3 separate regions of the Homo sapiens genome follow, and all the other regions are linked to region 3. The links are contacts of gene promoters, found by promoter capture Hi-C in human tissues and cell types (Jung and others, 2019). All regions are on one chromosome and are shown on one strand. The core of a region is centred on a gene start or on the middle of the fragment in contact, and the rest is flanking DNA. Distances in the headings are between cores, read along the strand shown.

Region 1 (3,187 bases), core at 505-3,004, 400 kb after region 3:
GTATGGAAATGCTACTGATTTTTATATGTTGATTTTTTATCCTGCAACTTTAGTGAATTTGTTTATAAGTTCTAAGATTGTTTTGATGGAGTCTTTAGGTTTTTCTAGATATAAGAACATGTTGTCTGCAAACAGGGACATTTGACTGCCTCTTTTGCAATCTGGATGCCCTTTATTTTTTTCTCTAGCCTAAGTGCTCTGGCTGGGACTTCCAGTACTATGTTGAGTAAGAATGGTGAAAAGTTGGCATACTTGTCTGGTTCTAGTTCTTAGAGGAAATGCATTCAGCTTTTCCCTATTAAGTGTGATGTTAGCTGTCACTTTGTCATATGTGGCCTTGATTATGTTGAGGTATGTTCCTTTATTGCCTAGTTTATTGAGAGTTTTTATCAGGAAGGTATGTTGAATTTTATCCAATGTTTTTTTCTGCATCTATTGAGATAATCATATGGATTTTGTCATTCATGCTGTTGATGTGCTATATTACATTTATCGTTTTGTGTATGTTGAACCATCCTTGCATCCCTGGGATAAATCCCACTTTGTCTTGGTGTATTGTCTTTTGAATGTGCTGTTGGATTTTGTTTGCTAGTATGTTGTTGAGGATTTTTGCATCTGTGTTCATCAGGGATATTGACCATAGTTTTTGTTGTTTCTGTACCCTTGTCTGGTTTTCGCATCAAGGTAATGCTGGCTGGCCCTATAGAGTAAGTTACAAAGAATTACCCCTCTTCAGCTTTTGGGAATAGTTTGAGAAGAATTGGTGTTAGTTCTTTAAAAGTTTTGTAGAATTTAGCATTAAAGCTATCTGATCCAGGGTTTCCTTTGTTGAGAGACTTTTTATTAAAATTGATTCAGTCTTGTTACTTGGTGTTGTTCTGTTCAGGTTTACTACTTGTATTAGTCTGTTTTCATGCTGGCTGATGAAGACATACTGAGACTGGAGAGAAAAAGAGGTTTAATTGGACTTATAGTTCCACATGGCTGGGGAGGCCTCAGAATCATGGTGGGAGGCAAAGGCCACTTCTTTTTTTTTTACTATTATACTTTAAGTTTTAGGGTACATGTGCACAATGTGCAGGTTAGTTACATATGTATACATGTGCCATGCTGGTGTGCTGCACCCATTAACTCGTCATTTAGCATTAGGTATATCTCCTAATGCTAACCCTCCCCCCTTCCCCCACCCCACAACAGTCCCCAGAGTGTGATGTTCCCCTTCCTGTGTCCATGTGTTCTCATTGTTCAATTCCCATCTATGAGTGAGAACATGCGGTGTTTGGTTTTTTGTCCTTGTGATAGTTTACTGAGAATGATGGTTTCCAGTTGCATCCATGTCCCTACAAAGGACATGAACTCATCATTTTTTACGGCTGCATAGTATTCCATGGTGTATATGAAAAGGCACTTCTTACATTGAGGCGGCAAGAGAAAAATGAGGAAGAAGCAAAAGCGGAAACCCCTGATAAACCCATCAGATCTCATGAGACTTATTCACTATCACAAGAATAGCATGGGAAAGACTGGCCCCATGATTCAGTTACCTTCCCTTGGGTCCTTCACATAACGTGGGAAATTTTTTTTTTTTTTTTTTTGAGACGGAGTCTCGCTTTGTTGCCCAGGCTGGAGTGCAGTGGTGCGATCTCGGCTCACTGCAAGCTCTGCCTCCTGGGTTCACGCCATTCTCCTGCCTCAGCCTCCTGAGTAGCTGGGACTACAGGTGCCCACCACCACGCCTGGCTAATTTTTTTTGCATTTTTAGTAGAACGAGGTTTCACCGTGTTAGCCAGGATGATCTCGATCTCCTGACCGCGTGATCCACCTGCCTCGGGCCCCCCAAAGTGCTGGGATTACAGGCGTGAGCCACCACGCCTGGCCACATGTGGGAATTCTTGGAGATACAATTCATGTTGAGATTTGGGTATAGTACACTATATCACTGCTTCTTCCTGGTCCGATCTTGGCAAGTTCTATATATCCAGGAATTTATCCATTCCTTCTAGGTTTTCCAATTTGTTGGTGTATAGTTGTTCATAATGGCGTCTAATGATTCTTTGTATTTCTGTGGTTTCCTTTTTCATTTCAGATTTTGTTTGAGTCTTCTCTCTTCTTAGTCTAGCTAATGGTTTGTGGATTTTGCTTATCTTTTCAAAAAACCAAGTTTCTGGCTGGGCGTAGTGGGCCATGCCTGTAATCCCAGCACACTGGTAGGCTGAGTCCGCAGATCACTTGAGCCCAGGAGTTCGAGATCAGCCTGGGCAAGATGGTGAAACCCTGTCTCTACTATAAAAAAAAAAAAAAAAAAGTTGCTGGGCGTGGTGGTGTATGCCAGTAATCACAGTTACTTGGGAGGCTGAGGCATGAGAATCACTTGAACCTGGGAGGCATAGGTTGCAGTGAGTTGAGATTGCACCACTGCACTCCAGCCGGGGTGACAGAGCAAGACCCTGTCTCAGAAACAGCAGCAACAACAACAAGAACAATCCCCAAAACAAGTTCTTGTTTCATTGATGTTTTATATGTGTCTCTCTCTAATTATCTAATCTAATTGAATCTCTCTCTCCCCCCCCATATCTCCATATCTCCATCTCTTGCTTTCTCTTTCTCTCTCTCTGGTTTCTATTTTGCTTATTTCTGCTCTGGTCTTTATTTCTTACACTAATTTTGAGTTTGGTTTGTTCTTGCCTTTCAGGTTCCTTGAGATGCATTGCTAGGTTGTTTATTTAAAATCTGTCTTCTTTTTTGATATAAGTATTTATTGCTGTAAACCCCCCTCTTTGTACTGCTTTTGCTGTTTCCCAGAGGTTTTGGTATGTTGTGTTTTTTTTTCTTCTTTTCTTCTTTTTTTTTTTTTTTTTTTGAGACGGAGTCTTGCTCTGTCACCCAGGCTGGAGTGCAGTGGCATGATCTCGGCTCACTGCAAGCTCTGCCTCCCGGGTTCACTCCCACCTCAGCCTCCCTAGTAGCTGGGACTACAGGCACCCACCAGCACGCCTGGCTAATTTTTTATATTTTTAGTAGAGACAGGGTTTCACCGTGTTAGCCAGGATGGTCTTGATCTCCAGACCTCGTGATCTGCCCGCCTCGGCCCCCGAAGTGCTGGGATTACAGGTGTGAGCCAATGCGCCCGGCCTTTTCTTTTCTTTTTTTGAAAATGAAGACGGGGTTTTGCCATGTTGCCCAGGCT
Region 2 (3,370 bases), core at 583-3,082, 430 kb after region 3:
TATAACAGGGTAAGTGTCCTTTAGTAGGTACCCTTTCAGTGGAGATCTGAAGAGAAGAAGCCAGCTTTGCCAAGTAAAATAATTTCATGAAGAAGCATTAACAGTTTTAAAGACCTCATAGGAAGGAGTTTTGAGGAAACAGGAGGGAGGCTGGAGGGCAAGAATATACTGTATAAGGGGAAGACTTAATGAGATGCGAAATTGGAGAGGTGGCCAGAGTCAGATTCACTTATCACGTATTTACTGGACACCAACCATGCGCACAGCACTAAGGATATAGCAGCAAACAAATCCATGCTGTCTTTGAGAAAAAGTACCTGCCTTTATGATCCTTGCAGATAATGCAACCATTTTATTCAAAATGGGAGAGAAAACCATTCCACCGTTGAATCAAGGGAGTGACACAATCTGATTTGCTTTTAAAATTTACTCTGGTTGTGCTGAGAATAAATGGAGGAAGGAGAGAAGAGTGAACAAGGGAGTATAGTAAGGAATTTAACTGCTGTAATCTAGATTAGGGGAATGGGGACTTGAAATGATTGCTGGAGATGTACAGAATATCACTAGCGTATCAGGAAGCAGCACAAAGAATTATGGGCTGGCAATGCTAGGGTATCCAGAAATTTCATTAGTTATTGAATTATTGTCCATCTTTTAAAAAAAAGTGGCATTTAATCAATTCTTTTTTTTTTTTTTTGAGACGGAGTCTCGCTCTGTTGCCCAGGCTGGAGTGCAATGGTGCGATCTCGGCTCACTGCAACCTGCGCCCCCTGGGTTCAAGCGATTCTCCTGCTTCAGCCTCCCGAGTAGCTGGGATTACAGGCACCCATCACCAGGCCCAGCTAATTTTTCTGTTTTTAGTAGAGACGAGGTTTCACCATGTTGGTCAGGCTGGTCTTGAACTCCTGACCTCGTGATCCGCCCGCCTCGGCCTCCTAATATGCTGGGATTATAGGCGTGAGCCACCGCGCCCGGCCCACATTTAATCAATTCTAAAAGTCACAACTTTCCCTGTTTTAACAATGAAATTGAGTTAAGTGTTAACACTTGGTGTCATGTTAACAGTCTATATCAGCAAAGCAGCAGTCCTGGTATATTTGTTTGCCCGTGTATTCACAAATATAATCATGTCCATTCATTTTGTCATCATTTCAGCTGAGGTATGAGCATTGTTGGCATTTCCCATGTTAACTTTGTTGTTCAGTGTTTCTGCATAAATATTCTGTGAATCAGCATTGAAACAAAATTACCCGGTATGGAGAAAGTTATGAAAACAGTTTATGATGGTATGTGATTAAACTCTGTTTAAATAAGTTTAAAAAAACTAACTCTTGCAATCAGTATTAAGTAAAAATTCTAGGGCGGGTGCAATGGCTCACGTCTGTAATCCCAGCACTTTGGGAGGCCAAGGCGGGCGGATCGCCTGAGGCCAGGAGTTCGAGACCAGCCTGGGCAATATGGCAAAACCCTGTCTCTACTAAAAATACAAAAATTAGCTGAGTGTGGTGGTGCACGCCTGTAATCCCAGCTCTTTGTGAGGCTGGCACATGGTAATTGCTTCAACCCAGGAGGCGGAGGTTGCAGTGAGCCAGGATTGCACCACTGCACTCCAGCGTGCAGAGTGACACTCTGCCTCAAAAACAAACAAACAAAACCCTAAATTTATGATAAAGTTTTGTGTCATGATTTATTTGGAGGCATTTCCACTATTTCTTTTCAGCATGTACAACAGTGGTGTGTCTTATAATCAGTGGCATCTTAGATTTGATGAAATAAGATAGCATTAAAATGGCATTTGTAGCTATTAGTAGTAACATTTGTAATTAGTTTTACGTTTTCTTTATTAACATGATTTTGTAGCTGGCAGGTAAATAATTCTCCCCCCCAAAAGCCGAGAGGTAAAAAGTAAGATTTCAATGAAGCATTGTATTTTCTGTTTGTACTCAAATCACATTGTTGTTTGACCGCTTATTCTTAGCTTTTGTATTATTTCGCTGTAGCTCCTTTCATTTGACTGTTAGAAGAGTGGGGACATCTCTTGGACAAATGCTGAATTACAGGCAAGACTTGGTTAGTGCTGAGGGCTTGACAGGTGATTCTGTTATACACCAACATTTGAGGCCCCAACTTTGGTTTTCAGTCCGCTAGCAGAGGATACCTAAGTTGGCTGTGGAATTTTTGGGTCTTCAATCCATATGCATACCAAACATTGTCTATAGGCCAACTAAATAATATATTTCAGTATGTGCTCCTACTTACTTAAATGCTGGTATGCTATTGTGATTAATAAAATACAACTTTGTTTTAAAACATTATTGCAGCCTACTAGTTTTTTGTCTGTATTTTAATCAACAAACCGTATTAGTACAACTGCTATCGTGTTAGGTTTGCAAAAATCTTTGAGGTTAAAAGTGCTAATATTTGAATATGTTCTAGGCTAGGGAATTCTGAATCTAACTAGCATATCTGAGGACTGCTTGTCAGTTTGTCAGTATTACTGGCAGATAGAAGGTATAAGCAGAGGAGATTAAAGAAAAAAAGAAACATATATATATGTTTATGTGTATTTATTTATATATAAATATATATTTTTCTATATATAAATGTATATTTTTCTATATAAATATATATATTTTTCTATATATATATATATATATATATATATAGAAAAACATAGAAAATGAATAGGAATTTAAAAAGAAATTTTTTTTTTTTTTGAGACATAGTGTGGCTCTGTCGCCCAGGCTGGGGTGCAGTGGTGCAATCTCAGCTCACCGCAACCTCCGCGTCCCGGGTTCAAGCAATTCTTCTGCCTCGGCCTCCTGAGTAGCTGGGACTACAGGTGCCTGCCACCATGCCTGGCTAATTTTTGTATTTTTAATAGAGATGAGGTTTCACCTTGTTGGCCAGGCTGGTCTCAAACTCTTGACCTCAAGTGATCCTCCCGGCTCGGCCTCCCAAAGTGCTGGGACAACAGGCATGAGCCACCACACCCGGCCAAAAAAGAAAAAGAAATTCTTAGTTTGTCTTTTGTAGCAATTTTGGAAGATGAGAACAGTTGCATACCTTATTTATTTAAGTTATTCCTTCTCTCTCTTTTTTTTTTTTGGCAACAGAGTCTCGCTCTATCGCCCAGGCTGGAGTGCAGTGGTGCGATCTCAGCTCACCTCAACCTCCGCCACCTGGGTTCAAGTGATTCTCCTGCCTCAGCCTCCCAAATAGCTGGGATTACAGACGTGTGCCACCACACCTGGGCTAATTTTGTATTTTTAGTAGAAATGGGGTTTCACTGTATTGGTCAGGCTGGTCTCGAACTCCTGACCTCAAGTGATTCGCTGGTCTTGGCTTCCCAAATGCTAGGATTACGGAC
Region 3 (3,004 bases), core at 126-2,625:
GGAGGAGGCATCCTGTGAAGAGGTTGGTCAGGGGAGGGCTCCTGGGGGAAGTAACATTTGAGCTGAGACCTGAATGTACTAGGAAGGGCCAGCCAGGAGATAAGCCAGGGAAAGAAGGTTCCAGACAGAGGGACAAGCAAGCCTTGCGGTGGGACCGCTCTCGGGGCTGGCTGCCAATCCAGGAAAACAGCACTGGGTATGCAGTTGTACTAGGTGAATGGTTTTGACACAGCACACCAAGCAGTCCTACAGTTCCCTGGTGGTGTCTCAAGGGCGGAGGGGCCAAGGACAGAGACTCTGCCAGACTCACGCCACCCTGCCCAAAACACACACAGAGAACGAGAGAGAGAGAGAGAGAGAGAGACGCGTGCACATACTCTGCTTCAACAAAACAGCTCTTCTTTAATCCGAAGTGTATATTGGGTGGCTGCTTAAGATTTTGTTCGAGGACCAGGTTCAGGGATCAGAAATTCTTGATCTCAAAAGTCCTTTTCCACACTTTGTTTGATTCTCTGCAATGTTACACAGCCTCAGCAGTGGTCATAGAAGGGTTCGTTCTATTCTATCCATTGGCAAGGAGTCACAGAGTGCAGCTCCCAGCAATCTGGCTCTCCTCTCACCGTAACATCCCACCCTTTCCCCTCCAGCAGTGGACTGGAACCTCTGATGCCTTCCAAGCCCATCCCAGCTACAGAGGGACACACATCTCTGCCTCTTCCTAGGAGATTAGACTGATTTCCTTTCCTTGCACTGTCCAAATGAGACGCTTTCTGTCCTACACAGTAGAGCTTTGTGAAGACAGCCGAGAAACGGCTCAAGTTTTTTCCAACCTGTAAAATGCAAAGTTGGCCAGCTGCCTCTCTTCCTAGCCTCAAAACTCATATATTTCCTGTCTCCCCGGCAGCTCTAAGAGAAGTCTCTACTGTCCTGGGGTTTGGGGAAAGCACTGCTCAGAATGTGAAATCATTTTCTGGTAATACGGATCTAATTAGCTCTTTGACTGACAAGAGGAAGCAGAGGCCAAAAGGGAGTTAACCAATCTGTTTTTCAGATATTTCAAAACAAGTGAAGAACCAGATAGGGAAACAGAGAGAAAGAGAAAATAAAGAGACAAAGCCTAGGGAGCATTTGGAGAAGGGAGTGAGTAAGAAGAGAACGGGGAGGGAGAATATCAAGTGACTAAAGTATCAATCCTCTGTTCTTCCAGCTTCACCTCTACTCCCGGTCTCCCCTCTGCTCTCTTCCAGAGAGAACTTACTTGAAGGTCGATGTTTTCTCTTGCTGATTCCATCTCGCTGCCCTCAAGTCCCTTCACACGCACCGGGTGCCGGGAACAGACTGCGTGGGCTCCTCCAGGCTCCGCCGTCTGAGTCTCTGCTGCTTTCTTCGGGTGGGAGAGAGCACACAGCTGGCGGGACAGACCTGCCATTCATCCCTCTGATGTGGGATGCCCGTCTTGGCTGCAGCCTCTGGGGGAGGTGTGCACCTGCACACACGTGTGAGTGTATGTGTGTGCACATGTGTGTGCTCCAGGAGGTGGCACATGGCACACTGATAGGTGACCTTTTGAGTTGGTAGTGACAGCATCATTTTCACCAGTGGCTCCAGTGACCTTCCAGTCCCAGCGGAGCCATCTGAGGTCACCCAGCCTGCTTTGAGCTAGTAGCTTTATGACTGGCAAAGAAATCCTGCATGTTTATCAAGCAAATTGAAAAACAGCCTGAGGACAACGCTATCTGACTTCACCGCTGGGTCCAGTCCCCAGTCGCCACGGGTGGAGTGACCTCCAGCACAGTCTCAATACTGAGGCAGAGGGATTTCCGTTGTTCTTTGCTTTGTTCCCTATATCCCTAAAAGTTTTTAAAAAAATTGTAGTTTACCTAATAGGCTCCAAAGCATAGGCTTTGTTCTGCAAAGTGAGTGAACAATACGTTTTTACTGACGGATTGTTTGATTCCTTCAACTCCTCCCTTGATTAGCCATAGAGGGAGCAGGGAGTAGTTGTACCTTCGAAGCTTGTTTATGCAAACAGTGGTATTCTCCCTACTTTTAAAATAAAATTACCAGGAGGGAGTCTTTTTTTAGAAAGTTTTTTTTTTCCTCTCCTGTTTACCTTAGAGCCCAAAACTCTTCTGGCTTGTTCCTGAAGCAAGGTTTAGACACAAGCTTGTGCAGGTGTGGGTGTGGGTATGTCTGTAGACGTGCATGGCAGGGTGTTAACCTGTAATCCAATTCAGGGCTTGAAGAGGTGCGGGCAGGAGGAAGACAGGCAGAGTCAACACGTTTACCCTCACCACATTCAAATGTAAAAAAAAAAAAAGGCGATTTCTTCAGTTCTATGAAATGCCTTTATAAGTTCCCATCCCTCTGGACAGTGGTGCGAGGGAGGGTTGGATGATTGGATGGGGGCCATATTTTAGTCTAATCTATGAAGCATAGTTGGATTTAATCATTTAAATGGTAAACAGTCCACTTTAGACACAATGCTCAGTCTTTCGGATTTGCAGAAGATGGCACCTAGGTGCACAGGAGGGCGGGGTGGGGACGGTTCTTGCATCTATCCTGTGGCCTCTCCATCTCGGCTCCTTTCTGTTCTGGAGCTGCTGGGCCCACGGGCCCGCCCGAATTGCTGACTGCTGAGGAGACACAGGTCCTGCTCCTGGGTCTTCTGCTGGCCTTGGTGGCTGATGTCTGATATTAGGCCAGAGTCACTCATGGGTGATTCTCTTTCTGCCTTTGAGATCCAGTGTTCTCCCTTGCTGTCTGCGCTACCTTGGCTCGTGGCAATGTGGACCATCCTGAGACCTGGCTTTGACTTGTATGTGCCCCCATCCCACTGTATCCGCTCAGTGGCCCACATCTCTAAGATAAGCCCCTCGAAATTTTCCTGTGAGATGCTTGACCAGTGCTCCTGAGCCCCCTTAGGCACATGGGGACTGAGGGCTGCTGACGAAGGGCAGGGGAAAGGCAAGCTCAGCCCCACTTCCAGCAGAGTTTGCTCTGA

Evidence for each region. Contacts are between HindIII fragments. The study calls those that stand out against the background at their distance.
Region 1: a contact is called between a fragment that was not itself captured here and the fragment with the promoter of NINJ2 in region 3, in 1 of the 25 tissues and cell types used here (dorsolateral prefrontal cortex).
Region 2: a fragment that was not itself captured here is called in contact with the fragment with the promoter of NINJ2 in region 3 in 1 of the 25 tissues and cell types used here (spleen).

Annotation. Positions count from the first base shown.
Region 1 is chr12:1,059,149-1,062,335 of GRCh38, forward strand. The region is part of intron 2 of ERC1 (ELKS/RAB6-interacting/CAST family member 1); the gene reads left to right. Among named protein-coding and RNA genes, the nearest start is that of ERC1, 70 kb to the left of the region's middle. The HindIII fragment of the contact is 8,518 bases long and covers 1-3,187 here.
Region 2 is chr12:1,091,320-1,094,689 of GRCh38, forward strand. The region is part of intron 3 of ERC1 (ELKS/RAB6-interacting/CAST family member 1); the gene reads left to right. Among named protein-coding and RNA genes, the nearest start is that of ERC1, 100 kb to the left of the region's middle. The HindIII fragment of the contact is 7,005 bases long and covers 1-3,370 here.
Region 3 is chr12:662,070-665,073 of GRCh38, forward strand. It overlaps NINJ2 (ninjurin 2), which reads right to left and starts at 1,376. Exons shown (of 4, transcript NM_016533.6): 1 at 1,259-1,376. The coding sequence starts at 1,291. The HindIII fragment of the contact is 21,671 bases long and covers 1-3,004 here.